7 separate regions of the Homo sapiens genome follow, and all the other regions are linked to region 1. Evidence: promoter capture Hi-C in 16 types of primary human blood cells and fetal thymus (Javierre and others, 2016). All regions are on one chromosome and are shown on one strand. Each heading gives the region's core, a stretch centred on a gene start or on the middle of the fragment in contact. The rest is flanking DNA. Distances are from core to core; before and after follow the strand shown.

Region 1 (3,879 bases), core at 480-2,979:
GCTTTGAAATAATCCAGGTAAAGGATGATGATGTCCAGAATCAGACTTGAGTGAGGTGAGTGCAGCCCCAGCCTGGGATGCAAAATTTAAGGAGAAGTCTCAGTAATTACTGCACTCCAGCCTGGGCGACAGAGCGAGACTCCATCTCAGAAAAAAAAAAAAAAAAAAAGATAAGTAATATTGGCCTGGCATGGTGGCTCATGCCTGTAAGCCCAGCACTTTGGGAGGCTGACGCGGATGGATCACTTGAGGCCACGAGTTCGAGACCAGCCTAGCCAACATGGTGAAACCCTATCTCTACTAAAAATACAAAACAATTAGTTGGAAGTGGTGGCACTTGCCTGTAGTCCCAGCTACTCAGGAGGCTGAGGGGTGAGAATCACTCAAGCCTAGGAGGTGGAGGTTACAGTGTGTGAGCTGAGATCGTGCCACTGCACTACAGCCTGGGCGACAGAGCAAGACTGTCTCAAAAAAAAAAAAAAAGTAATATTCTAAACTAAAAACCAAGATAATGGAAAAATCCCATTATGAACAAAATATCAAAATTTTAATTAAAGACAGGATTGGTGTTACTGAAATTGCCTTTGCCTCAGGCTTCAGTATGGCTGGACCGGGCACTGGCTGGGACTAAGGTGGTGACAAGAAAGTGACCAAATTGGAGTAGACAGGCGAGGCCTGAGGTGGAGCAGGCGTGGGAGCTGGGGGAGGGCACCAAGGGGTTGAGCAGTCTCCCCTGTTGGTATCGAATATAACAATAATTCTTAGGCTCAGCAGAAGTTTAGCATCCATGTTCCCAGTCACCTGGACTTTTCCAAATCTTGGAACCCCCTCTGGCTGAAAAGGCTTTTGTTTGTTTAAACGGCCACTTTTTGCATCCAAGAGCACAAGTCAGCTTCCACTGGAAGGTTCTGAGAAACGGTTTCAGGTTTAAGTCTAGAGCATGAATGGAACGGAGTCACAGCTGAAAAAGAAACATGCCGAGTGCCAAGGAAAAGACATGGTTAAGGGGTAACATGGGCCCGGGTAGGTGAAGGTCGGCAGGTGGAGGCCGGCTGGATCAGGGAAGGTGAAAGAAGAGGCAGGGGCAGGGCCCAGCCTGTTTTAACGCCTCGGCGTTCTCACCGCTGCAGAACGGCTGCAGGGGGCAGAGTAAAGAGCTGCTGTCAGTTTCCCTGCCCAGAGAGTGCCAACAGCTGCTCTGACCTATTGCAGGCATGTGTGTTCCAGGATGCAGCCTTCCTGCACTTTGACCACTCTAGATTAATTGCTAACCAAGATATGCACATGATGGGGCTCACAAAGTATTAGGCGGTATTTTAACAACAAAAGCTGCGAAGAAATCCCTAGAAATGTTGGCTCTTCTGGCTGGGAAAACGCAGTCTGTCAACAGTTGCCTCAAAAACTCAGAAGCTCAGAGAGTTGGATTCGGTCACCAGAGAGGCCCCTCAAAGAGGCCCCAACCATTCAGATCCTCTGCTCTGTCCCCCATGACAGCGGGGACGAAGGTCCTAAGCCCTGGCCGGGAGGGCAGTTGACCTCGGGACTCGCCGCGGGGCGGAGCGGGTGCTGGGAGGAAGGAGGGCGTGGCTGGCGGGGTGTGGCTGGCGGGACGGGGCGGGGCGAAGACAGAGCGAGGCGGGGCCTGGGACGGGGGGGGGGTCGGTGTCGCCGTGGGGGCGTGGAATGTGGGGTGGGCGTGGCTAAAGGCAAAGGGCGGGGCGCGCGCGTCGGGAAGATGGCGCTACGTCTGCTGCGGAGGGCGGCGCGCGGAGCTGCGGCGGCGGCGCTGCTGAGGCTGTGAGTGCAGGTCCCCGTTCCCCGCCTTCCCGGCCCGGCTCGCCGCGGGTCGGCTCCTGTTGCAGCCCCGCGGGCCGGGCGCGGCCTCCCCAAGCCCTCACGGGAACCCAGCCGGACGGAAGCACCATGCGCCTCCCACGCGCTGGCTCGACCTCGTCCAAGGTCGCTGCCGCCCGCGCCTCCCTTTGGGAGGGCCCTCGTTGCACCCGGAAAATGGGTACACACCTTAGGTCGAATTACCTGGACTCAGCCCCAGGAAACAAAACTGCCTGCCTCCCCCAAATGGCAAACGTGAACGCGCCAGTCTTTGAGAGGCGGCTTGCCTGGTGAAGAACACCTGCGGTTCGTTTAACACAGCGGTTCCCAAACGGTTTGGTCTCAGGACCCGTTTACACGTCTAAAAATAATTTGAGGACCCCCCAAAGCTTTTGCTTATATCTATTGATTTTTGTGCATGAGGAATTAAACCAGAAATTTAAAAAATATTCACTTAATAACAAACCCATTAACTTTTAATACAAATAACACTTTAATGCATAACTTCTCAAAAAAAAAGTGAGAAGATTGGCTCATGGTTTTTATATTTTTGAAAATTTCTTTGGTTTAATAAAGGACAGCTGGAGTCTCATATCAGCTGTTTTGAAGGAAATATTTGAAAGAAATTCTGGGCTCATGCAGATGCAGATATTAGTTGGGAAAGGGAGGACCAAGCAGACCCTCTCAACGGGTCTCAGGGACCCCCTCAGGTGTCTTTGGACCACACTTTGAGAACCGCTGGTCTAGCACTTGCCCATCGCCTAGGTACGTGCACATACATGGTCTCATTTGGTTCCCTTGACCACCATGTGAAGAAGTTGGGTGTCATGTTTATAAAGATGAAAAAACAGGGTCAGAAAGGTTAAGGATTCTCAAAGCCCTATGACCAGTAATGAGAGAGTTTGGTTCAAACACTAAGTGTATGGCTCCTGGTCTGGAACTTCTTTATTTATTTATTTTTATTTTTTGAGACAGAGTCTCGGTCTGTCACCTAGGCTGTAGTACAGTGGTGTAATCTCGGCTTACTGCAACCTCCACCTCCTGGGTTCAAGCGATTCTCATGCCTCAGCCTCCTGAGTGGCTGGCATTACAGGTGTGCACCACCACCCCTGGCTAATTTTTGTATTTTTAGTAGAGACAGAGTTTCGCCATGTTGGCCAGGCTGTTCTCGAACTCCTGACCTCAAGGGGGTCCACCCGGATCAGCCTCCCAAAGTGCTGGGATTACAGGCGTGAGCCACCATGGCCGGCCTGGTGGTCTGGAACTTCTTTTTTTTTTTTTTTTTTTTTTTTTCCGAGATGGAGTTTCGCTTTTGTCGCCCAGGCTGGAGTGCAATGGCGCCATCTCAGCTGACTGCAACCTCCGCCTCCCGGATTCAAGTGATTCTCCTGCCGCAGCCTCCGGAGTAGTTGGGATTACAGGGCGTCCGCCACCATGCCCGGCTAATTTTTGTATTTTTAATAGAGACGAGGTTTCACCATGTTGGCCAGGCTGGTCTGGAGCTCCTGACCTCGGGTGATCCACCTGCCTCGGCCTCCCAAAGTGTTGGGATTAAAGGCGTGAGCCACCGTGCCCGGCCTGGGTCTGAACTTCTTACGTCTTCTTGCACTGTGACTCTTCAGTCACCCATGTCCTATGGGAGGACCCACCTAGTCTTATGCATCCCACTTTCCCATTTCCTCCGCTGCCCCTGGCACAGGGGAGTCACCCCTCGCCCTAGAGGAGCAGCTCAGGCAGTGTATCCAGGCTGGTCCAGAAGGGTCCTTTTCTGGCGCCTTTTGAGGGGGCCAGCGTCTGTGACCTGTTCAGTAGCGGGTCCAGTGAGCGCACACAGTCCCCACGCCAGTACGCTGGGGGTTAACTCAGTGCTCCTCACCCGCCTTAGCACACTGGTCTGTTCTCGACATGTCTACCCGCTGAATATAGGATTCTTGATTGGCATTTTTTTTCCTTTGAGCATTTTAAAGCGTATTATCGCACTGTCTTTTTGCCTCCATTATTCTAATGAGAATTCAGACGTTAATGTTATTAGGGTTCTATGTAAGT
Region 2 (3,879 bases), core at 900-3,399, 990 kb after region 1:
GGTGTCTAGAAATGTAGACATTACAAAATGAAATGTAGCTGGGTTCTCTTTGAGTGGTCAATGTGGGGAATTAAGGCATATTGAGTGGGCCTCATATGCCAGGCACGACATGACTCTTCTCGTGTCATCCTTTGAACAATAGTATGAACCAGATATTATTATCCCCATTCTACCTGTGAAATGGCTCTGAGAGGTAAAATAACTCACTCAAAGGTACACTGTAAATAAGCGTGCAATGGCTTGAACTCACACCCAGCTGAGCCGAAAACCTGTTCTCTTACCATGAGGTTTAAACGGGGAAGCTGGGTAATATACCCTGAACTGTATATTATCAGGACTTATCATTTATATTTGAACCTCTTTGTTAAAATTATTAGTTCCAGTAAGTAATCCTATACATGTAGTTCTCTCAGTGAAGCACTTTCACACACACGATCCATTTGATCCTTATTCTTGCATGAAATAGTAAAGACCAGGGAGAATTTCTTCTGCTTTGATTGGCACGTGGCCTGTCTGGGCCCAATCAAAGACCACCAGGTGCAAAACTGTAGTTGGATAAAGTCAGATTTATTGGCTCATTGCAAGGAGAGAAGACTGAGGCCAGAGGAATCCTGGGATGCCTCAGCAAAGGTAAAGTTTGAAGACTTAGGGGAGGGGTGGCGTGTAGGTGAAATTTAAAGGAAAGAGTGTTTTGACAGGTTCAAGGCAGACAGAGCTGTGAGTACAGATCAACATCAGGTCTGGAGTCTGGGGGTCTACATCCTTGGAGACTAGAGTTAATATAGATGCAGACTGGCACACCCAGAAACCCTTTAAGGGAAGTTCTGCACCCAGGTTGGAAATAGAGGCTGCTTGTTTGTTTCAAGGAGACTCGGATCCCCCGGGTAAGTTGAGATGGTTCCGTCCTGATGATTTCAAACAGCAAACCTTCTGATAGTCAATGCTTTTCCAGAAGGAAGCCTCTCAGTGAGTAAGAAAGCAGCAAGCACCCAAGGACGGGGGTGATTTGACCTGATATGACATCCGTGTGTCCTTGGAGGACGTATTTCCCGCTCCCTCTGCTGCTGTCGTTATCTGTGCTATCTCAGCCTGATGGATGGCAGGGGGCAGAAGTTTACTTTTTCAGTCTGAGATACCTTTTTAACTGATCAGGCCATATCAGGACTAGAAACCTTCAAAATACTTTATTTCCATGCGGGTGTTGGCATTTCAAACATTATGATATTTCACAACAGATTTTGATGAGGATTTGCATAAGCATGCAAAGCAGCTCACCTTTATAACTTCTTCCAGTGGACTTCTCTATAAGAGTTCATGTTTTTTTAAAAAAGGATAAAGCATCTAGGTATTTTTGAAGACTCCTGGGTTAGTCCAATCTTATTTCATAGAGGAGAAATTAACCAAAGCAAGGACAACTACTGATAGTGACAGGAGGCAGCCAAATGCCTAGGCAGGTAGGGCAGGTCCCCAGTGAAACGCCACCTTCAGGCCAAAAACAGCCTGAAAGCTGAAAGATCGGATTGCCGGTCCCGGATGAAGTCTGCAACCCAGAGTGAGAACTTCTGTTCCTTTTTGCCCATCCTTTCCCAATTGATTCTTTCTGAATTATGCCTTTTAACTAATCAAATGTTGCCTTTTCCAATATTACCTACAGCCTGCCCCTTCTCCATTCTGAGCCCATAAAAAGCCTCAGACTCAGCCATATTAGGGGAACTTTCCCACCTTTGGGTAGGGGCACCACCCCGGCGTCCCCTCTCCATGAAAGCTATTTCATCATTCAGTAACCCCGCCTTGCTCACGCTTTGATTGTCAGTGCATCCTCATTCTTCTTGGGTGTAAGACAAGAACTGGGGAATCAGTGCATAAGCTTGACCGGGCCTGGGCAGGCTGAGTGGGCAGGCTGTGTCCTGCAGCAGGTAGTGTGGTTGAGTGAGGCCTGGGTGGGGTGTTGCATCTTGCAAAATGACTGAGAAGAAAATCCTGTGTCACTACCATTATTTTTATCAGAAGCAACTGAGGCATGGAGTAATTAACAGATTCATCCCAGGTTCCAAGTAACTAAAGGAAGGATTGGAGTTGTTTGTATCTAATTGGATTGCTGGAACTTAAAAATAAAAGACACATGCCAGTGAAGTTAATCCTAGCACAGCTCTCACACACCTGTTCCCATGCTTTTTCTACCCTGTCACCTTGTTTGCCGAGGTCTGCAGTTTCCTAGGCCAGTACTGTGAAAGCTATCATCTGTATGTTTTATCAGAAAGTTCTAGAAATGAGCAGTTTTGATATTCAAGACAAATCTCAAGTCTAGCCATCATAATTAATGCTATCAAAATTTAACTGCTGAGACAAAATTGTTTTTACAAGATGGATAAAAGTAGAATTTAAATCAAGAGAGAAAACATTTTCTCAAACACATCACAAGTGGGAAGAAGAAAGCTTTATTGGTCTTTGGGAAATGCCACATATTTAAAAATAAATGATTAGAAATGTAGGACACTCAGGCAGTTTTGATAAACAAAGTAACTGATTAAAACTACTTGAACTAGTCAGAAAATAAGTGATTGCCCAGGTGTGGTGATTCACGCCTATAATCCCAGCACTTTGAGGGGAGGCTGAAGTAGGAGTTCAAGACCAGCCTGGGCAACATAGGGAGAACTTGTCTCTACTAAAAAAAAAAAAAAATTAACCCAGCATGGTGGCACATACCTGTGGTCCCAGCTACTCAGGAGGCTGAGGCAAGAAGATTGCTTGAGCCCAGGAGGTTGAGGCTGCAGTGGGCTGAGATCGCACCACTGCACTCCAGCCTGAGTGACAGAGCGAGATCCTGTCTACCCCCCTCAAAAAAATATATATATATAAATCTGAAATTATTTCTGGGTCATTTAATTATAGGAAAAGTGAAGGGTTTTCCCCCCTTCAGTTATTTATCAAATATTTTGATATACCAAGCTCTGGTCCAGGACTCTATATGTCTTTTCTCACGTAAACATCTCAATAATTGTGAAAAAGTTACATTCCCCATTTTACAGACAAGGAAGCCAAGGTGCTGAAAGATTAAGTGACTTGCTCTATTAGTTCCCTAGGGCTGTCATAACAAGGCCCCACAGACTGGGTGGCTTCAAACAACAGAAATGCATTCTCTTGCAGTTCTGCAGGCTGGACATCTGAGATCGAGGTATTGGCAGGGGCCACGCTACCCTGGAAGCCTCTAAGGGAGAATTCTTCCTTGTCTCTTCCAGCATTTGGTGGCCCCTGGTGTTCCTTGGCTTGTAGAAGCATCACTCTAATCCCTGCCTCTGGTGTCATCAACTCAGCATGTGGTAGAATGTGAGTCAGGATGGATTTTGGCTTTGAAAAGCTATACCCTGTTTTAAAGAGCCTGCTGAGGGAGGGAGGCTCATTAATCCAAAAGATAGGCACCTGTGTGGAAGTGCATGCCCCTAAAGGTGGAAGCCAACTGGAAGAGGATGAAGAGAGAAATGGAGATCTGTGATGTTATTGCAGGAGGTCAGTACTGTCTGCGTGGTTGAGTGGGGAAAATGAGTGATATGCCTCAAAATACAAATCCCCAGATTGGCACCACTGCAACATAGAGTGCCTGGAGGGATGCTCCAGTGATGTGAATACCTGCTGGATGTCGTCTTTGGCAGAGCCTTTGTTAAGACTCTGACTCGACATGCTGACGTTTTAATTTCCCAAGAATAATCTAGAAGAGGAAGGTAGACGCTATGTAGGTCTATGGGGGAAATTGGGTTTCTAAGATGCCATCACAAAATTTCCCATTCCACGTGCTCTTTTTACAACGTGATGTTGACATGCCTCCCATGGAGAAGTGAGGTCTGCGTTCCCTCCTCTTGAATCTGAATGGACCTATGATGA
Region 3 (3,879 bases), core at 641-3,140, 960 kb after region 1:
AAATTTCCCTTCTGCACTGCCCTAGCAGAGGTTCTCTATGAGGGCTCTGCCCCTGCAGCATCGTTCTGCCTGGACATCCAGGTGCCTCTGTACATCCTCTGAAATCTAGGCAGAGGTTCCCAAACCTCAATTCTTGACCGCTATGTACCCACAGGCCCAACACCACGTGTAAGCTGCCAAGGCTTGGGGCTTGTACTCTCTGAAGCAATGGCCTGACCTTTACACTGGACCCTTTTAGCCACAGCTGGAGCTGCAGCAACTGGGAGGCAGGGGGGCACCATGTCCCGAGGCTGCATAGCGCATGTGGGCCCTGGGCCTAGCCCACAAAAGCATTTTTCCCTCCTAGGTCTCCAGGCCTGTGATGGGAGGGGCTGCTGAGAATGTCTCTGATATGCCCTGGAGACATTTTCGCCACTGTCTTGGTGATTAACATTTGGCTCTTTGTTACTTATGCAAATTTCTGCAGTGGGCTTGAATTTCTCCCCAGAAAATAAGTTTTTCTTTTCTATCACATTGTCAGGCTGCACATTTTCCAAACTTTTATGGTCTGCTTCCTCTTGAATGCTTTGCTGCTTAGAAACTTCTACCACCAGATACCCTAAATCACCTCTCTCAAGTTCAAAGTTCCACAGATCTCTAGGGCAGGGGCAAAATGCCGCCAGTCTCTTTGATAAAGCGTAACAAGAGTGACTTTTGCTCCAGTTCCCAACAAGTTCCTCGTTTCCATCTGAGACCACCTCAGCCTGGACTTTATTGTCCATGCTGCTATCAGCATTTTGGACAAAGTCATTCAACAAGTCTCTAGGAAGTTCCACACTTTCCCACACCTTCCTGTCTTCTGAGCCCTCCAAGTCTCTAAGAAGTTCCAAACTTTCCCACATTTTACTGTCTTCTTCTGAGCCCTCCAAATTGCTCCAGCCTCTGCCTGTTACCCAGTTCCAAAGTGGTTTCCACATTTTTGGGTATCCTTATAGCAGCACCCCACTCTCTGTGGTACAAATTTACTGTATTAGTCCATTCTCATACTGCTAATAAAGACATACCTGAGACTGGGTAATTTATAAAAGGAAGAGGTTTAATCGACTCGTGTTCAGCATAGCTGAGGAGGCCTCAGGAATCTTATAATCATGGCGGAAGGGGAAGCAAACATGTCCTTTTTCACATGGTGGCATCAAGGAAAATGAGTGCCCCATGAAGGGGGAAGCCCCTTATAAAACCATCAGATCTCATGAGAACTCACTATCACAAGAACAGGATGGGGGGGAACCGCTGCCATGATTCAGTTATGTCCACCTGCCCTCCCACAACATGTGGGGATTATGGGAACTACAATTCAAGATGAGATTTGGGTGGAGACACAGCCAAATTATATCAGACCTCAAATGAATCTCTGGAAGCAGTCTGGGTCCTTACCCATCCTCTAGGTTTATAAAATCCCAAGGAATGTCTCCTTCTGCCATGATTATAAGCTTCCTGAGGCCTCATCATCCATTCTGAACATGAGTCAATTAAACCTCTTTCCTTTATAAATTACCCAGTCTCAGGTATGTCTTTATTAGCAGTATGAGAAAAGACTAATACAGTAAATTTGTACCACAGAGACTGGGGTGCTGCTATAAGGATACCCAAAAACGTGGAATCTTAGGCTTAAATGCCTGCTCAGATGATGTATCGCTACTTATTTGCTCATCTAATAATTCCATATGTAAGAAAATGTTGTGATTGGCCTCCCCGAGAGATTGCTCAGTCTCCAAGAAAACGACCCCCTATGAGGACAGTTTATAGCCCTTGAGCTGTGTGAAAACACAGTGCCAGAATGGATCAAAGCTCCAGCCCAAAACACCATGGCATTAAAGAGACAGGGAAGCAGAGAGCAGTGACAACAGTCCTAGCTCTCTGCCAATCCAAAGGAAAGAAGGGAAAAAAGGGAAGATAACAGTGTCGAGGAGGATAACCTCAGATACATGGGAACTGGCACATGAGAAGCACACTTTTGTAAGTAGGGAGATTTATTTTGCAAAATCCCCCAGCAGGCAAGCCTTGGCAATACATTTCAGATGAACTCATCCAAACTGATGCTGTGTCTTCGCAAGGAAAATTGAAAAGACTGTATTTAATGCAAAGATATTACAGTTTTTCTAATGATCATATAGAAGTGCCATTCTTTGATATTGCTCTAATATCCTTCAGAACACAGATGTGTATGCTGTGCAGCAGAAGAAAGTGTGGTGTAGACAGAGAACATACTTTCTTTTTTTAGTTTTAATTTTAATTTTTGTAGAGACGGGGTCTCATTTGGCCAGGCTGGTTTCAAGCTTCTAGCCTCAAGCAATCCTGCCACTTCAGCCTCCCCAAGTGCTAGGATTATAGGCATGAGCCACTGCACGCGGCCCAGAGGACACACTTTACAACTAGATGTACTTCATTTCAAAGTCATGTAAAACCCTGCCGTGTTTCAGCTGTGTGACCTTGTTCAGGGTGTTTCATCTCTGTGAACCTCAGTTCCAATTCCCTACAAATGGGGATAATAATGCCCACCTCAAACATTGATGTATGGAGATAATGTATGTATATATACATTCTGGCCCACACATGATCTCAATAATTCTTACTCCCTCTGAGAGAAGGATAAATCACAGAACTACAAGGACTAAATAGAATATATCACAGATATAATAATGCCTTGCATATATCTTGTATCCAATAAGTCTTAACCTTTTTTAACTTACTCAAACATACAAAAAGCCATACACTAGTTATCTGGTATGGTTGACTGGTGTTCTTTATTATGAAATTTAACCTTTTGTGTGCAGGAAAAACCTGTATAAGCCCTTCTCTGCATTGGTCTGCACAGTATACTAAAAATGACATAGCTCATGCACGTTCCCAGCATCAGCCAAGGGTTGGACGCAACCCAAGTGTCCACTGACAGAGGAAGGAATAAACAAAATGTGGGGTATACACACAATGGAATATTACAGAGCCTTGAAAAGACTGAAAGGAAGGAAATTCTGACCCATCCTACAACAAGGATAAGCCTTGAGAACACTATGCGAAGCAAAATAAGCCAGTCCACAAAAAGACAAATGCTGTAAGATTCCACTTTTATGACATACCTAGAGTAGTCAAATTCATACAGACAGGAAACAGAATGGTGATTACCAGGAGCTGGGGGACGGGGAAAATGGGGAGTTGTTTAATGGATATAGAATTTTAGTTTTAAAAGATGAAAATGTTCTCAAGGTTGGTTGCACAACAATGTGAATATACTTAATACTACTGAACTGTACACTTAAAAATGGTTAAGATGGTAAAATTTATGTGTTAATGTTTAAAACATTTATTTATTTTTGTAGACAGGGTCTTGCTATGTTGCCCAGGCTGGGGTGCAGTGGCTATTCACAGGTGTGATCATAGTGCACTGCAGCCTCAAACTCCTTGCCTCAAGGTATCCTCCTGCCTCAGCCTCCAGAGTAGCTGGGACTACAGGCGTGCACCACCACACCAGGATAAAAAACATTTTTCAGATGATGTAAGCTTTTCATAAGAATGCAGAGTCCTCAAACTGATTAATGATGAACTGTGCTGCAGGTACATTTATGCATTTTGCTGCCCAGAGCTGTAGCTGTATCTAGCTTCAGGGTGTACTCTAGAACTTGCTTTCCTGAACGAATATCTGGGGTTTCTTAGGATACAGCTGCTAAAGGAAAAAAATAGAACTTGACATCTTTTGCTATATAATGGCATCTTTTATTAATACCCTTGGAGAAGCATAGGGTATTAAGGCTGGAAAAAGTTTAGAAAGTACATTTTAAAGTTGAATATGAAATCTACACTTCAATCCAACTAAAAGATTTTTCTAAGACCATATAGGTAGCA
Region 4 (3,879 bases), core at 398-2,897, 930 kb after region 1:
CCTTTGTTGACTGTTTTTAAATCATGAAGTTGTGTTGAATCTTGTCAAATGCTTTTTCTGTATCAATTGAAGTGATTGTGTGTTTTTTCCTTCATTCTGTTAATGTAGTGTATTACATTGATTGATTTTCTTATATTGAAACATCCTTGCATTCCAGGAATAAATCCCACTTGGCCATTGCATATAATCCTTTTAATGTGTTGTTGAATTCTGTTTGCTAGTGTGTTGTTTAGGATTTTGGCATCGATCTTCATCAAGAATATTAGTCTGTAGTTTTCTTTCTTGGAGTGTCTTTGGCCTTAGTATCAGGGTGATGCTCAACACTGAAATGTTCCTTCTTCTTCATTCTTTAGAAGAGTTTCAGGAGGACTGGTGTGAATTCTGTAAATGTTTGGTAGAATTTACCAGTGAAGCCATCTGGTCCTGGGCTTTTTTTTTTTTTTTTTTAAGTACAATTTCCATTTTATTTTTCTCCAGAGAATAGCCTGTCTTCAGTCTTTAAGAACTCAGCTCCTTACATGGGCTTTGGTGGGGGACGTGGGGCAGCACCCGCAGGTCTAAATCGAGGTGGGGGTGTTCGGTCCTTGCGGGCTTCACGAGATCGATTCCTGACTACTTTGCTGTGAATTGCACAACTCACACAGTAATGTAGCTTCACATACAGCTTGGGAAGCACATAGGCATCGAAGACGCTCGCTTCAGAAATGTCCCTGACTGCTGCGGCCTCCACTATGTTTCGAATGACGAATTTCTTAATGGCGTTGTCCTTGGGCACGCATCGGGCACAGTTAGTGCAGCGAATAGGCTGCACGTGGCCGCGGCCCTTTTTGGCACGACCATTGTTCCTTCTTTTCTTTGTCATCTTGGAGGCACGGACCGGAGAGAGAGTGGGCTTTTCTTTTGGGGGAGATTTTTGACTGCTGCTTCAGTCTCTTTACTAGTTGTAGGTCTGTTCAGTCTCAGTAGGTTGTGTCTTTCTAGGAATTTGTCCATTTCATCTAGGTTAGACAATTTGTTGGCATAATTGTTCATAATATTCTCTTGGCCTTTTTATTTCTGCAAGATGTGTTGTTCTGTAGGACGTGATGTTTTCTCGTCCATTTCTGGTTTTAGTTATTTAGATCTTTTCTCTCTTTTTATTTAAGTTAAAGGTCTGTCAATTTTGTTAGTCTTCTCAAACAGCCAACTCTTGGTTTAACTGATTTTCTCTGTTGTTTAAAATTCTCTTTTTGTTTATCTCTGCTCTAATCATTACTGTTCCTTTCCTTCTGCTAGCTTTGGGTTTTGTTTGTTGTTTTTTGAGCTTCTTATCTCCTTGTACTCTTGTTCCTTGTCTCTCATGTTCAGCCCATCTCCAAGGGCTGCTGTGAGGATCACAACCAACAGGACACATGAAAAGTCTATAACACTGGCCAGATGCCTCTCAGAACCGCAGCAGAATGTGCCTGTGATTCATTCTGGCTGAGAAAATGTCGGGCTCCTCTTTGGGTGCACCAGGCCCCTGGGCCGGGCTGGGAGGGGTGACACTGCCACTGCAGAAGGGGATGCCACCTTCTGAGAGCCACATGTTACTGTGTCTTCAACCCTGCCCCCTCTCACCATGCTAGTTTTTTGTTTGTTTGTTTGTTTTTCCATGGCACAGGGTTAGAGTCAGGGTCTCAGATAAAATGTAAGGGCTTGGTTTAATGAGTAATGGTAAGAAACGGCTGTAGGCAAGCCATCTGAGTTTTTCCAGATTAAAACAAGTATTTCTCTTGGTCTCTACCTTAATGTGAAGTAATTGCCCCCAAGTCAGCCCTGCTGCATCAGACACAGTGTGAGCCCAGCCCTTGCAGGGCCAGCATCAGGAAAGGCAACCTCAGAATTCTGTAGATGGGCATTTAGGGACAGAGTGCAGGGCAAGTATCAAACAATCCACTGTGCCATAACAGGCCTGACTTGAGTTCCTGCCTCCATCCCTGAGCACCTGTGGGACTTTGGGCAAGTGATTTCAAGTTCTTGAGCTTCCATTTCCTCCTATTTACCCCAAAGAGTTACCCTCCACTGACTGCCGACTGTGCAGGCATGAGCACCTGATGAATGTGAATTCCCTCTTCCCCTTGGCCCTTCCTTATCCCTGCTCCCTCCTCAGGTCTCCACTTAACTCCATCCTTTATCAACATCTTCTAGAAATATCTACTAGCTATAGTCTTCTCAAAAATAAAAATGAACACATTATAAGTGGGAGAGGGCATCAGGCATATCGAGTAGTGGTTGTGGCCTTAATGATTTTCCAAAACCAAGAAAAATGCTTGGGAGGGTGATATTACGTAGAAATGAAGGTGATTAGGCCACAGAAGGTTAATTCCAACTCTGGAAAATCAGTTCAGTAATTGTCTTCTGCAGAAGATGATAGCTTATTTCTGTAAAATAAAACCAGGCAATAAAAGTTAACCTTCATTTCTAGGAAATAATCCAGCCTGCTAGAATGACCAACTAAAATTTTCTACATTTTATGTATTGAGTTCAATAGCATCCTTCATAACATAAAGTTAGTTTGAGAACACTACTTATGCAATAGAAAAGAAAATAGCCTGCATTTCTGGCTTCTGTCATAAGAAAAACTTCATTACCTTTCTGATTGTGTTTTGAACAACACACACAGATCCTAACAGGAAGAAACTTGTCCCCATGGGGACTGAGCCAGGATCAGAGTTAAGCACTGAAACAAGCAATTAATTCCCCTTAGAGGATTAAGGCACTCAGGTTCACTTTGAATCAGAAAAGCGAATCAAGAATAAAATGGTGTACAACCAAGAGGCTGCCAGTCCAACTTACTAAGTTAGAGAACTGAAGAGCAACCCCGGGTGCACAGGAGAAGCAGAGCAGCCGCTGACCCCCCCAGCAAGAAGACGGGTAGGGTTTGTTTCATGGGACAAGATCGTCCTTCATGACGCTGTGGAAACGTTGGGGAGAGCACGGTTTGTGCCCTAGGACGCTGGCCTTACTCTTAACAGATCCAGTCCACGAAAGTAAATCTAAAAAGCGTGTTCCAGCCTGCCACGCTGTCATCCCTCGTGCACGGATTTCCTCATAGCATCTTACTGTTAATACACAGAATCAAAGAATGACATGCATGAGACCTTAACATCAGTTTGGAGAATTTTACTTTGGGTTCCTAGAGCCAATTCTGAGGGCACTGAACATCTCTGCAGATGTCGTTCCCTGATGCTGATGTGTTAAGGATAAGGGCGGCCTGCTGCTGTGGTCAGGATTCAGGCATCCTCCACTCTGGAAATCCAAGAGGCCAAAGCTGAACCTCTGTCCCAAAGCTAACTGGTCCGGACAATAGCGGCATCCAGGGGACAGCATGGAGGTGGAACAGGCTCAGAGAGTCTCCAAAAGCTTTAGATCAGCAAAATCTGGTTTCCCATTGCCAATATTTGAGAAAATAAGAAGACTCATGAGCTGTCCATCTGGTCGGGCGCTGCCTGAAATGCCTGTCACTTATTCAGCAGTTCTCCTTCTTGAAACGCAGTCCGTCTATAGTTTCATATTTCACCACTGAAGCAGAACTTGAAAGTGATTACGAGTCCTTTGCATAACTGTTAGATTTTTTTCTTGATTTCTTTTTTCTTAGCCACCTGGTGGCAAGAGTGTAAAAGGCAGGATTTAAGAGTTTATGATGATAGTTTACAAATCACAACCACTTCATATGCCTGGTACACGTTTAAAAGCATGCATACGCAGACCAGGTGAACCGAACAAGGAAAGGGCTAGTGTTTAACTCTTCTTAAACTAATTTACAAAAGGATTTTAAAAAGACACCAGCTTTTTTTTTTTTTTTTTTTTTTTTTTTTGAGACGGAGTGTCGCTCTGTCACCCAGGCTGGAGTGCAGT
Region 5 (3,879 bases), core at 588-3,087, 910 kb after region 1:
TGTTACGGCAGAGCAACGGGGCCTATATTTTATGCATTCCTTTAAATTCAGAGTACCTGGGGGGCACGCGTAGTGAACAGGCTCAGGACCTCGGGATCTGTCAGCTCCCTCCTAAGTTCTGTTTGCGGGGGCTGCTCAGGTGGGGCGTATACTTGCTTTTATTTGTCTTTTTTGGTACTTGCAGAACTTCCTTTCATATTCTGTGCCATTGTGTTTTGATGAAACAGCCTTTTCTCTTGAATTACTGCTTGTGAAAAATGTCCCAAACCACTAATACCGAAACCCAATGCAGCCTGAGAAGTTTCATCGTCGGCTCTTAGCGCAACTTCTATAGTTAAATTCTGCTTAGTGTAATTAAAACACAAGAAGCTTCCTTGGACCAGAGGCACGTCACTTACTTGAGGCCATTGTGAGGAAACACTACCTGTCACGTTGAAATTTTGCGGTTTTAAGTGATTTTAACACCGCGGGGCGTGTTGTGTTTTCCTCCGCACTAACAATAGCCGGGCGAGGTTCCCCTTTTATGGGTGGGAAGATAATGGAGTCAGTCTCCTTGGTGTATTTTCAAGGAAAATAAGGACCCTAAAACAACTAAGGGCCTTACAAGTATTCTGTTTTTCTTTGAAATGTTACTTTTTATCGTTTAAATTCCAGTAATCTATCATGTTTCTGTTTAGCTTAGCTGAAGTAAAACTTGACCAATCGTAGAATGGTGGGCCTGGCAATAAGTTCTAAAAAAAGTGTCACATAAATCGTAATGAACAAATCTGTTTTGTGAAGTAAACAATTTGAACACAGTTTAAAAACCTCAGGAAGAAGAGATGTGGGGTGGCCGTTGAGAAGTAGTGAATCCGCTCGGGGCGCTTGGTGTGGCAGGGCCTTGTGCACTGATTCATTTGAAACACTCAGCCTGCCCTAAACACAGAAGCTGTGTTTTATTTGAAGGGCTTCTGTAGGGTTCACACAGCAAAAGTTCCTAATAACTTTTTCAGTGTCTGTTATATACTATTTAACATTAAATGTGGCAGGTCACATTTTAAATGATTGTGTAATAGTTTTTCCGAACACGTGGAGAGAGGATGTTAATACACAGTAAAATGCAGGTAAGCAAACAAATCAATAAGAAAGTACAGTGGATTATTAAGGTCCAGAATCAGTAATATAATTTAGGAAACAACTGATAGAATAAATTTTAGTGCCTTTTTATATGCCTTCTGAAAATGTTTCTGCAGTAACTCATTTCAGTTTGAAAACTCGTTTTCTTAGACTCGTAACACTATTGTAAACTGGGAGCACTTCTGTAATCAAAGTTAGCATGACTCAGCTGTTTCAAACTTCTACCTTTATGATACTCTTGAACAGAAATGTTAGAAATATATATATTTTCAGAATAACGGTAGAATACATTTTTCCACATGTCAAATTAGACTTATAGCTGCTGAATTTATTGCATAATTTTCACTTTGACTTTGAAGTCAAATAAAGTCATGATGAGCACATTCGCTTTGTTAGCCTTTTGATATCAGAAACAAAACCACCCCATAAGATAGTCACCCAAGGAGGCATTTTAATATTGCATTTAGTTAAGATTCTTTCAAGTAATGTTCGTATTCTGCAGTCATCACAGATTTGCATCAGAAATACTCATTTAATACACCAAACAAATGAGAAACAAACCATAAGCTGCTATATACTCATCTGCATTTCTTTCTTTCTTAACAATTAGTGAAACCAGGTGAAAGAATAGATTGAAATTAAGTACCTGTTGCTGCTTTTTCTTGCGAATTAGCCCATTCGATATTAGACTTCGGGATATTTTGGTGGGGCTAAGATGAAAAGATCCACCTCGTGATGGAATTGACCTTCAGCAGGGGACAGTGAGGTGTCTGCGGTTGTTCCTCTTGTGAACAACGCCTTAAAGGCGAGAAACAGCCTACTGTACAGTGTGCCAGGGAAAGCATCACATCGGTGGGCGTCGGTGGCAACACCACTTACACTTCACCCTGATTTTGTTTCCTCCTTGCACGTGCTCCTTTGACAGGGCAGGCTCCCAAGCAGGTGTGCAGTCAGGGCCACAAGACACAGGCACCCCATCCCATCTCAGAGTCTGACGTCCCCTCCTCCCCTTTGTCTCTAAGCCTCATGTAACTGAGCTTATAGCCGACCATACAGAACTGGCAAACTTGGTGAGATACCTTTATTTTTTATTTCTTAAACAAGATTTTAAAATTTCATAAGCTCTCACGTATCCTAACGAGAAGGCAGGGCTGGGCCCTCCCGACGGGTGTTTGCCTGGCATCGCGCTTGTGTGCCTCATGCAGCCCAGGCTCGCTCACTGCATCTTTCCCTGGCAGAGGGGCTAGCCTGGCTGCTTCATAGACTTTCCAGTTTCTGGATACCTTGATTTACAATCACAAAATAATTGCAGTAATTAAATTTATATGTTTTATAGCAATAGTTATTCAAGCAGTTTATTTGACAAGATGCCAGTTTTCACCCAAACCTCAGATTGTATCTCACAGCATGTACACAGAGATCCATGCATTTGTTAACATTTTAAGACTTTAAAATTATGAAATACTACAAACATGCAGAAAGTTACAGAGAAGAATCCAACAAGCACTCCTGTGCCCTTTGTTCACCATTTCCATATGTGTTTCAAATTTTATTTAACAATGAGACATTACATATAACATGAACTTCCCCTGTGGCAAGCTCCTCCATCTCATTCCTGTCCTGTCTTCTTCAGAGGTAACGACTACCCCTGGATTTGGCCTTTTAATCTTTTCCAGATAACATTTATTTTTAAATGTTAAGAGTTGGTTTTTGGCCGGGCGCGGTGGCTCACGCCTGTAATCCCAGCACTTTGGGAGGCCGAGGCGGGCGGATCACGAGGTCAGGAGATCGAGACCACGGTGAAACCCCGTCTCTACTAAAAATACAAAAAATTAGCCGGGCGCAGTGGCGGGCGCCTGTAGTCCCAGCTACTCGGGAGGCTGAGGCAGGAGAATGGCGTGAACCCGGAAGGCGGAGCTTGCAGTGAGCGGAGATCGCGCCACAGCACTCCAGCCTGGGCGACAGAGCGAGACTCCGTCTCAAAAAAAAAAAAAAAAAAAAAAAGAGTTGGTTTTTGTTGGAGGTAACAAATATCTATTAGTAGATAAGAGGAGGCAGAAAAAGATGAGGAGGTAAAAAAATATCTATTAGTACTGGGAATTTTTACAGTTGAATATACTCAATGATAATTATAAAATAAAAAATATTTATGTGGATCAGTATATTAAATATTATAGGAGAGTCTTCTCCAAGCTTGGCGTTTGATTTTTCAGGAGTGATCTGCTTGGGAGTAGAAGGTGTTTTCTTTGTTTTCAACATTTTTATAAGTGACCATTCTCAGCCTTACCAAGATGTAAACTATCTTTTTCTCTTTTAATAAAAATAAAAGTTTACAAAAAATCATCCTTTCACGGAGCGCTTTCAGGCAGCATGCTTTACGAAGGTAGAGGGTCCAGGCTAATTTCCAAAGGTATTGTGAATGACATCAGTTTCCACTAGTTCTCTTTGTAACTGCAGGCTTTGGCTCTGATTTTGAGCTAACTTAGAGGGCAGCAGGGAGTCATATTTTTCTTCATTTTAAGGAATTTTAAAAGAAACTGGACTTGTTTTATATCGGCCACAAGTCTGTACTCTTACCCTTAGCCCCTTGGGTGCTGCCCAGTTCTGGGGAGCCCCACTTGAGAGACAAGGGGAGCACCAGGCAGACGGCACGTGTGCCTGAAGTCCCGAGCCGGCAGCGGGGCTGGACGGGTGGCCCCTGGGTTCCCGCGCCCTCCAGAGTGAGGCCGCTCGTGCATGGGCCATTAAAGGAGTCTTCAGCCG
Region 6 (3,879 bases), core at 647-3,146, 630 kb after region 1:
TTTTGCTTTTTGGAGTTTTTTCCTCCAGTAGTTGGTTCGTTGAAATTAAAGTTTTTTTTTAATTTATGTAACAAGATACAATTGTAGAGATAAAATATGTACCTGAAAAAAAAAAAAAAGAAAGAAACAATAGAAAAGAAAAGGTAATGCAGATTACCAAAAGGATTTTTTGGAACAATTCGTAATTCCTGTAGGTACTGGAAATTAACTTTCATATTTCTGCAAAATCGATCAACTACTCCCAAACAATAGAGAATCAACTCCCCCTGCTGACAGAATCTAGGAAAACATGACACATAATATTGGACAGAAACAAGCTGGCTGCGGACAAGCTTTAATGACCTGATTTATGATTCAGTATTGATTGTAAACATCTAAATTCTGCCATTAAATTCCGGCAACTGCACCAAATCATTGGCAATTCTGGTAGTGCTTCCTGCCAGCTCATTTCAACTGCTTTGAGTTTCTTAATATAATAATGATGAGGTAGAATTTACATTCCACTTATGGTATTAATTTTACATTTCTCTGAATGAAAAGGGTTAGAAGGTAGTAAAATTGAACATTAAATGAATCGGAGGAGACAGTAGTGCAATATATGACTGCCCTAAAGACATTGTGCAATGCCTCATGGGATTAATGTTGAGTCTCATTTCCTGCTTTTACAGGATGCAGAAGAAGCTGTCAGAATTGCAAGGGAAATTGGTAAGTCCTTAAATTAACTTTGGTAGGATTTCTGTGTCTTTCAGCAGATACGGTTGAGTCAACAGGTAATAAGTAATTCCCATAGAGCAAATAATACTTTAATAGTTTTAGATTTTGATTACTTGTTGCTCTGGAAGAATGTATCAGTTGAATTGCCAAATTCTATTATTAAAGGAGACTGTAAAGAGTAATTTGACCTTAACTATACATAACTCTTTTGTAAGATGAGATCACAGGCTAATTCAAAGAAGGAATTGTCTTAAGAATTCTAAAGATTGGATATAAGTTTAATGTCAATTTATATGTACATAGTTGAATGTGGTTTGTTAAAATTAAGAACATTTGGATTAAAATGAAGATACCATATGTGACATAGTTCTTTAAGTTTTTGCCTTTTGCTAAGATGTTAGGTATCAACTTAATCTTGTTAGATGGGAAAGATAAAATAGATGTGGGAAATTAGAACTGAATGATCTAAATTGGAATAAAAGGTAGACTGGAGGAGTTTTTAATGGCTGTTTTACATGTACTTGTATTTGGGCAGTGTTTCCCAACTTTTTAATTTCTTTTCTTTTTCTTTTCTTTCCTTTTTTTTTTTTAAGATGGAGTTTTGCTGTCATTGCCCAGGCTGGAGTGCAATGGCACGATCTCCGCTCACTGCAACCTCTGCCTTCCAGGTTCAAGCGATTCTCCTGCCTCAGCCTCCCTAGTAGCTGGGATTACAGGTGCCTGCCATCACGCCCAGCTAATTTTTTGTATTTTTAGTAGAGATGGAGTTTCACTATGTTGGCCAGGCTGGTCTCGAACTCCTGACCTCAGGTGATCCACCCGCCTCAGCCTCCCAAAGTGCTGGGATTACAGGCGTGAGCCACCGCCCCTGGCTCGCAACTTTTTAATTTTAAAAATATTCTTGGCGGTCATGAGAACTATTTTTGGTATCTGCTAATTGAGAAAATGTGTAAGGGCATGCTATTATATGGATTAACAATATTGTTAAATAACTTTGCAGGTTTAATAATCAAATCAGTAATTGTATACATTTGACAGAAATTTGTACAGATGAGAGAAATTAGGCAATGCTTGTAGGGATCCCAGCGTCTTCTCAGCATTCCTGTACGCCTCAGTCCAAGCATCTCATCGTGCCACACGAACATTTCTGTAGGCCTGTTTTCTCACTAAGATTATTTAGATCTATTTTCTGCCTCTAGAGAGCATTTGATTTGGCAAAGCTCATATAGTTGTGATATGTAGAAATATCTTATTGGTCTGGAAGTGATCACTTGTACTAGTAAGCGTGTTCTTTGCAAATGGGACAGTCTAACTTAGCAGGTCTTTAGTGACCTGAAAAGCAGTTTGGCTTATTGCACCCTTGTTTGTAGTTGGTACTGTCTAAATTATTTGGGCTTTGCCCATCATTAAGTGTGTTTTGTTGTTTGCTTTGCAAAAATCTATCTTATTGATATAGGTCCTGGATTTAAGACCAGACCATAGAAAATCTTATTTTATCTGACTACCTCATCTCTTCATTTTTTTTTTCAGAATCATTAACATTTCAAAAAGCCTATCAGTACTTCATAGGAACATTTGCTCGACTGCTAAATAAACTGGACTATATAGAACTGATTCTGTGGTTTCTTTATGGAGAAAAATCAAAAGTTTCTGTTCATGGTTTGAAATCACTGGTATTCCTCATTGCCTAAGAGGCATATAATATACCTACTGGCTTTTGAGGATAGTTTTCTAAAATAGTTTAATTCCATCCTGTCAGACATCTTTACATTTAAAAAGCTCTTTTTCTAGTTCTAGGTTAGATATTATTATCAACCTCATTGGATATAATAATACTGTTATTATTATTATTACAGTATCTACATAAAGGACAATATTTAGAGAAATTTAGGGAAATAAAGGGATTAGAAGAAAATTTACAGTTACACTGCAGTGCCACATTTTGAATGGTGAATTTTGGACTTGCGAGCATTCCCTTTGTGTAAATAGCAGGCCGTGGATTGCTTTGCTTCCTTTATGCCTTTTCTTCCACTTTCTTTCTTTCTTTCTTTCTTTTTTTTTTTTTTTGAGACAGACTTTTCACTCTTGTTGCCCAGGTTGGAGTGCAGTGGTGCGATCTCTGCTCACTGCAACTTCTGCCTCCCGGGTTCAGGTGATTCTCCTGCCTTCACCTCCTGAGTAGCTGGGATTGCAGGCACACACCACAATGCCAGCTAATTTTTTTGTATTTTTAGTAGAGACGGGGTTTCACCATACTGGCCAGGCTGGTCTCGAACTCCTGACCTTAGGTGATCTGCCCACCTCAGCCTCCCAAAGTGCCGGGATTACAGGCATAAGCCAGTGCACCTGGCCATTTTCCACTTTCGTTATAACCTGTCACCTTTAAGATAACCAGCTCATCATGATGGGCCTCTGTCTAACTAGTTCTCATCACTTTGCTTTCCTCCCTCAATATTTTAATGCTGTGCTTTACCTCCTTTTCATTTTTTATTTTTTCCTACTGAAGTTACCTAATCTAATCTAAGTCTTTTTTCTTTGTACTTGGGCACATCCTTTATGACTCCTTTCTCTTTCCTGTCCTTCTTCTAATTCTTCCCCAATTACTCTCTCTTGCTTGTGAAATAAATGATAGCAATCATGGCTATTAAGTATAAGAGTACTGGTGTTTTGCTTATACTGAAAGAAAGGGAAACCATAAAATTTGAGGTAAAATAAACCATAAAGAACTAGGGTCATCAGCTCTTACAAAGCTTTTAGAATTTCTCTGAAAATCTCTTCTGAATCACCTCAGAAGCCTCGCATAAAATCTTTTCCTTGAAGTGCTACTTTCTAAAGTAAATTAAATTATGTTTTATTAAAGTCTGTTGGCTTTCTGTGTTGTTTGATATTTCGTAAGTTTTTTACTACTGATTTTATTGAGATATATCACATTTTAACTATGATTATGATTCCATGTGAAAATGTGTTCCTAGTTCTAAACAACTGATTTATAATCAAACCTTTGAACCTATCCATTTGTAAGTTGTTGATTGTCCATGTGTTATACCTATTCATAGAGTTCTCTCTTAATTCTTTCTGTGTTATGTGATGAAAATGAAGTTTATCCTGTTTTATGTGATTTCCTCCTCTCTCATGTCTTTGCTTTTCTTCTGGAAACATTAATCT
Region 7 (3,879 bases), core at 539-3,038, 600 kb after region 1:
TTGTTTTGAAATATTAGATGATAGGCCAGGTGCGGTGGCTCACGCTTGTAATCCCAGCACTTTGGGAGGCCAAGGTAGGCGGATCACGAGATCAGGAGTTCGATACCAGCTTGGCCAACATAATGAAACTCCGTCTCTACTAAAAATACAAAAAAAATTAGCCGGGCGTGGTGGTGCGCGTCTGTAGTCCCAGCTACTTGGGAGGCTGAGGCAGGAGAATTGCTTGAACCTGGGAGGTGGAGGTTGCAGTGAGCTGAGGTCGCGCCACTGCACTCCAGCCTGGGTGACAGAGTGAGACTCCGTCTCAAAAAAAAAAAAAAAAAGAAATGAGATGATAGTTTTGATCTATTGTATTGGTATGTTTTTCTCCTGTGCTTTCCTGCCCTACATGGATGTTACTCTGGTCCCTTTTTCTTTGCCTTATAAAAACATTGTATTGGGGCCAGGCATGGTGGCTCACGCCTTTAATCCCAGAACTTTGGGAGGCCGAGGCGGGTGGATCACTTGAGGTCAGGATTTCGAGACCAGCTCGGCCAACATGGTGAAACCCTGTCTCTACTAAAAATATAAAACCATATTAGCCCGGCATGGTGGGGGGTGCCTGTAGTCCCAGCTACTTGGAGGCTGAGGCAGGAGAATTGCTTGAACCCAAGAGGCGGAGATTGCAATGAGCCAGGATTGCACCGCTGCACTCCGGAGTGAGACTTCGTATCAAGACAAAAAACAAAAAAAATTATGTTGGATTTTACCTTGATATTTTATTTCACTTAGTTTAATGTGTAAAATTGGTTTTTCTCTACATTTCTTTTTAAAGAGCCATGTATTTTAAAATCAGTGACTCATGTCCAAGAAGTTCAAACACGAGTAGAGATAGCAGGAAGTGGTTTATTCTGAGGTCTTGAAAAGAATGAATTAACCCTGTAATCTCCCCAGTATTCTTTTTGATGTTCCTATTGACATCACTATATTCAGTGGGTGCTCCTTTCTATCTGCTACATTAGTTTTTGAAAGCTTTCTTTCTGACTCAGTTTATCTCATGTGCTAACTTCCTGAACCAATCCTGGAACTGGCCTTTTCTACCAGAAACACTCTTTTCTTTTATCATGGAATAGTATTAAAAACCACAATCTGGATCTTTTGGACAGTTCAGCTGTTTTTCCGTGGCTTTTTTTTTTTTTTCGAGACAGGGTCTTGCTCTGTCATCCAGGCTGGAGTGCAGCGGTGCAGTCTCGGCTCACTGCAGCCTCTACCCGCTGGGCTCAAGCAATCCTCCTACCTCAGCTTCCTGAGTAGCTGGGACCACATGGGACCACAGGTATACACCACCATGCCTGGCTAATTTTTATATTTTTTGTAGAGAAAAGTTTTTGCCATGTTGCTCAGCCTGGTTTCAAACTCCTGAGCTCGTGCAGCTCACCTGCCTCGGCCTCCCAAAGTGCTGAGATTACAGGCGTGACCCACTGTGCCCAGCCCCATGGCTGTCTTTTTCTTCTGACCCTGGTTTTGTAGTTATCCAAGTAGCAACTCTTGGTAAGCCTAAAATCTATACGCTTTAAAATCTGAATTCATAATATAGCAATTTACTAACTTGTGGTATTTCTAAGAATGAAATATGTATCATACATTTTAATTTTTACAATGATTCTTTCTGTCCTTCATTCCTGACATAAAGCCTATGGTAAATTAAATCTCATTTCCTTAACATACTGCTCAAACCCAACCCTTTCCCCCATTCTTCTATTAAAATTTGTCCAGAACCATAGAGTCACAGAATTTAGGAAATGAGTAGAATTTTGGAGCAGTGATTTCAGCTTTTCATAATTTCTTTCTCTTCTTTTGTCTTGCTGTGTTGCCCATGCTGAAGTGTAGTGGCTAGTCATAGGTGCCATCATAGCGCACAACAGCTTTGAACAGTATCTGGGCTCAAGAGATACTCCTGGCTCAGCCTTCCAAGTACCTGGGACTACAGGCACACTTGGCTCATAATTTTTTTTTTTTAAATGAATCACTTTAATGATGAAAAATGCCCACTTTTTGTGATCATAAGACATTTACTTGTATTCAGATATTATATGTATCATGCAAGGTAAATTTAAAAGGACCTTAAAAAGCATATTTTTGGAAACAAATTTAGTTGCTATTGCATAACAAAAAACTTACAGTGATTAAGGGAAACTGATAATTAGATGGATAACAAAAAATACCGGGTTAACAGAAGAGTATCGAAGGTTACTAGTGGATAAAATCTGGCCTTTTATTCTAAGTCACACCGCTGCCTGGTCAAGAACTGAAAACATTTGAAACATGCTCCATCACACTGCAGTTACCATACTCTCTTATCCTGACCTCATCCTTTTTGGTTACAGATTTATGGGAGCCAAGAGCCTCTAATGTTGCTTTCTCATTTTGCTTTAATTACTTTTAAAGGCCAATCTAGGGAGCACTTCCAAAACACATTGATAAAAAGGAAGTTAAGTCTTTGAAACATTTGTAGTTATCCAGCATACTACTGGCTATTTTTCTTTTGTATTGGGTGGGACAAAAAATAGTCACTAAATACTTGATATAAGCTTTTTTTTTTTTTTTTTTGACAATTTTACATTTTTGGGTGAGTAATTTTCCTCAAATTAGAATGCACAAGAAAAATCTGGTTAATCAGTGTTCCAGGTCGTTGGGCTCCTGTTAATCAGAAGTTTTACTGTATAATCATAATGTATTTTGGATGTTCTCATTTATGTTATTTCTTCAATTCTTTGTGTGGGTACTCTGATTGCTTGATTACATCTGCCTGGCATAGTCGTTTTTAAAGCAGCATTTATAATAAAATTTTCCATCTTTGCAAGTAAAATGAGAATATGGAAAGACAATTGATGGTTGAAGCATGATTGTTTCCTCTTGTCTTTACTTAGTGTTTAGTGGGTTTCAGGTTTTGGATAAAGAGAAATGAATATGATTATTGTCCTGGTCCGAAATGATTCATGTATCCACCTGGAGACGTAGAGTTGATAGAGGTGTAGGCTTACCTCTATTATCTCCTCATACAGAGCAGCGCTACTTCCTACGTATGTGCTTTACATTTTTGGGGATTTGCATAAGATTTTTTTTTTCCATGAAAATAAGGTTCTACTAAAACCAAATACAGAAACATTTGATAGAGAGATACTTTATAAGCACCTCTTAGGGCTGAAAGGGTTTCTTGTCTAGCATCCTGCCACTTGTAACACCAGCAAATTCTAGGCATTTGGGTTCCTATAATATTATTTTAGAGTCCTGTGGACCTAGCTATCTTATTATTCTAGTGTCCTCTTTTTTTTCTGGAGACAGAGTCTCACTCTGTTGCCCAGGCTGGAGTGCAGTGGTGCAATCTTGGCTCACTGCAAACTCTACCTCCCAGGTTCAAGCAATTCTCCTGCCTCAACCTCCAGAGTAGTTGGGATTACAGGCGTGCACCACCATGCCTAGCTGATTTTTGTATTTTTAGTAGAGGCCACTATGTTGGTCAGGCTGGTCTCAAACTCCTGACCTCAGGTGATCTGCCTGCCTTGGCCTCCCAAAGTGCTGGGATTACAGGTGTGAGCCACTGTGCCCGGCCATTCTAATGTCTTCTTTTTATCAAGACTTCTGGAGAGTGGACAAAAACTAACAGTTGTGGCACTCAACTTGGTGCTTTATATTATTATTGATGGGGTTTAGGACATGCTACTCCCAAATTTGGCACCTTGGCATATAAGCTGAAGGATTTGGAGAAAACAGCAGAAGCACGAAGGTCTCTGACCTTCCCCTTCCTCTCTTCCCTGAAGCAGGTCCTAAGACCTAGGAGGGACTTTCTGACCTTCTCTGAACCAGATCCTAAGACCTTCATGTGAGAGATGCCCTTCC

Evidence for each region. The method cuts DNA at HindIII sites, captures the fragments that hold promoters and counts their contacts. A CHiCAGO score of 5 or more calls a contact.
Region 2: a contact is called between a fragment that was not itself captured here and the fragment with the promoter of CLYBL in region 1, in 2 of 17 cell types (fetal thymus and activated CD4 T cells). The highest score is 6.1, in fetal thymus.
Region 3: a contact is called between a fragment that was not itself captured here and the fragment with the promoter of CLYBL in region 1, in 1 of 17 cell types (fetal thymus). The highest score is 5.0, in fetal thymus.
Region 4: a contact is called between a fragment that was not itself captured here and the fragment with the promoter of CLYBL in region 1, in 1 of 17 cell types (naive CD8 T cells). The highest score is 7.4, in naive CD8 T cells.
Region 5: a contact is called between a fragment that was not itself captured here and the fragment with the promoter of CLYBL in region 1, in 5 of 17 cell types (non-activated CD4 T cells, total CD4 T cells, naive CD8 T cells and 2 more). The highest score is 8.8, in non-activated CD4 T cells.
Region 6: a contact is called between a fragment that was not itself captured here and the fragment with the promoter of CLYBL in region 1, in 2 of 17 cell types (naive CD8 T cells and total CD8 T cells). The highest score is 6.4, in naive CD8 T cells.
Region 7: a contact is called between a fragment that was not itself captured here and the fragment with the promoter of CLYBL in region 1, in 1 of 17 cell types (naive CD8 T cells). The highest score is 6.3, in naive CD8 T cells.

The regions. Positions count from the first base shown.
Region 1 is chr13:99,604,961-99,608,839 of GRCh38, forward strand. It overlaps CLYBL (citramalyl-CoA lyase), which reads left to right and starts at 1,730. Exons shown (of 9, transcript NM_206808.5): 1 at 1,730-1,797. The coding sequence starts at 1,736. It overlaps LOC105370332 (a long non-coding RNA gene), which reads right to left and starts at 889. Exons shown (of 3, transcript XR_931674.3): 1 at 802-889. RefSeq lists enhancers at 593-1,572, 1,495-1,789 and a silencer at 1,511-2,070. The HindIII fragment of the contact is 13,725 bases long and covers 1-2,220 here.
Region 2 is chr13:100,593,439-100,597,317 of GRCh38, forward strand. No RefSeq gene overlaps it. Among named protein-coding and RNA genes, the nearest start is that of GGACT, 6.6 kb to the left of the region's middle. The HindIII fragment of the contact is 569 bases long and covers 1,866-2,434 here.
Region 3 is chr13:100,569,221-100,573,099 of GRCh38, forward strand. All of the region lies in intron 2 of GGACT (gamma-glutamylamine cyclotransferase), which reads right to left. Among named protein-coding and RNA genes, the nearest start is that of GGACT, 18 kb to the right of the region's middle. The HindIII fragment of the contact is 846 bases long and covers 1,468-2,313 here.
Region 4 is chr13:100,539,387-100,543,265 of GRCh38, forward strand. All of the region lies in intron 2 of GGACT (gamma-glutamylamine cyclotransferase), which reads right to left. It also overlaps the pseudogene RPS26P47. Among named protein-coding and RNA genes, the nearest start is that of GGACT, 47 kb to the right of the region's middle. RefSeq lists an enhancer at 3,500-3,679. The HindIII fragment of the contact is 3,470 bases long and covers 1-3,382 here.
Region 5 is chr13:100,517,538-100,521,416 of GRCh38, forward strand. All of the region lies in intron 22 of PCCA (propionyl-CoA carboxylase subunit alpha), which reads left to right. Among named protein-coding and RNA genes, the nearest start is that of PCCA-AS1, 38 kb to the left of the region's middle. RefSeq lists enhancers at 1-249, 1,700-2,365. The HindIII fragment of the contact is 2,940 bases long and covers 368-3,307 here.
Region 6 is chr13:100,235,174-100,239,052 of GRCh38, forward strand. PCCA (propionyl-CoA carboxylase subunit alpha) reads left to right here. Exons shown (of 24, transcript NM_000282.4): 8 at 669-705. Among named protein-coding and RNA genes, the nearest start is that of PCCA, 150 kb to the left of the region's middle. The HindIII fragment of the contact is 3,132 bases long and covers 331-3,462 here.
Region 7 is chr13:100,202,968-100,206,846 of GRCh38, forward strand. All of the region lies in intron 6 of PCCA (propionyl-CoA carboxylase subunit alpha), which reads left to right. Among named protein-coding and RNA genes, the nearest start is that of PCCA, 120 kb to the left of the region's middle. The HindIII fragment of the contact is 1,559 bases long and covers 1,010-2,568 here.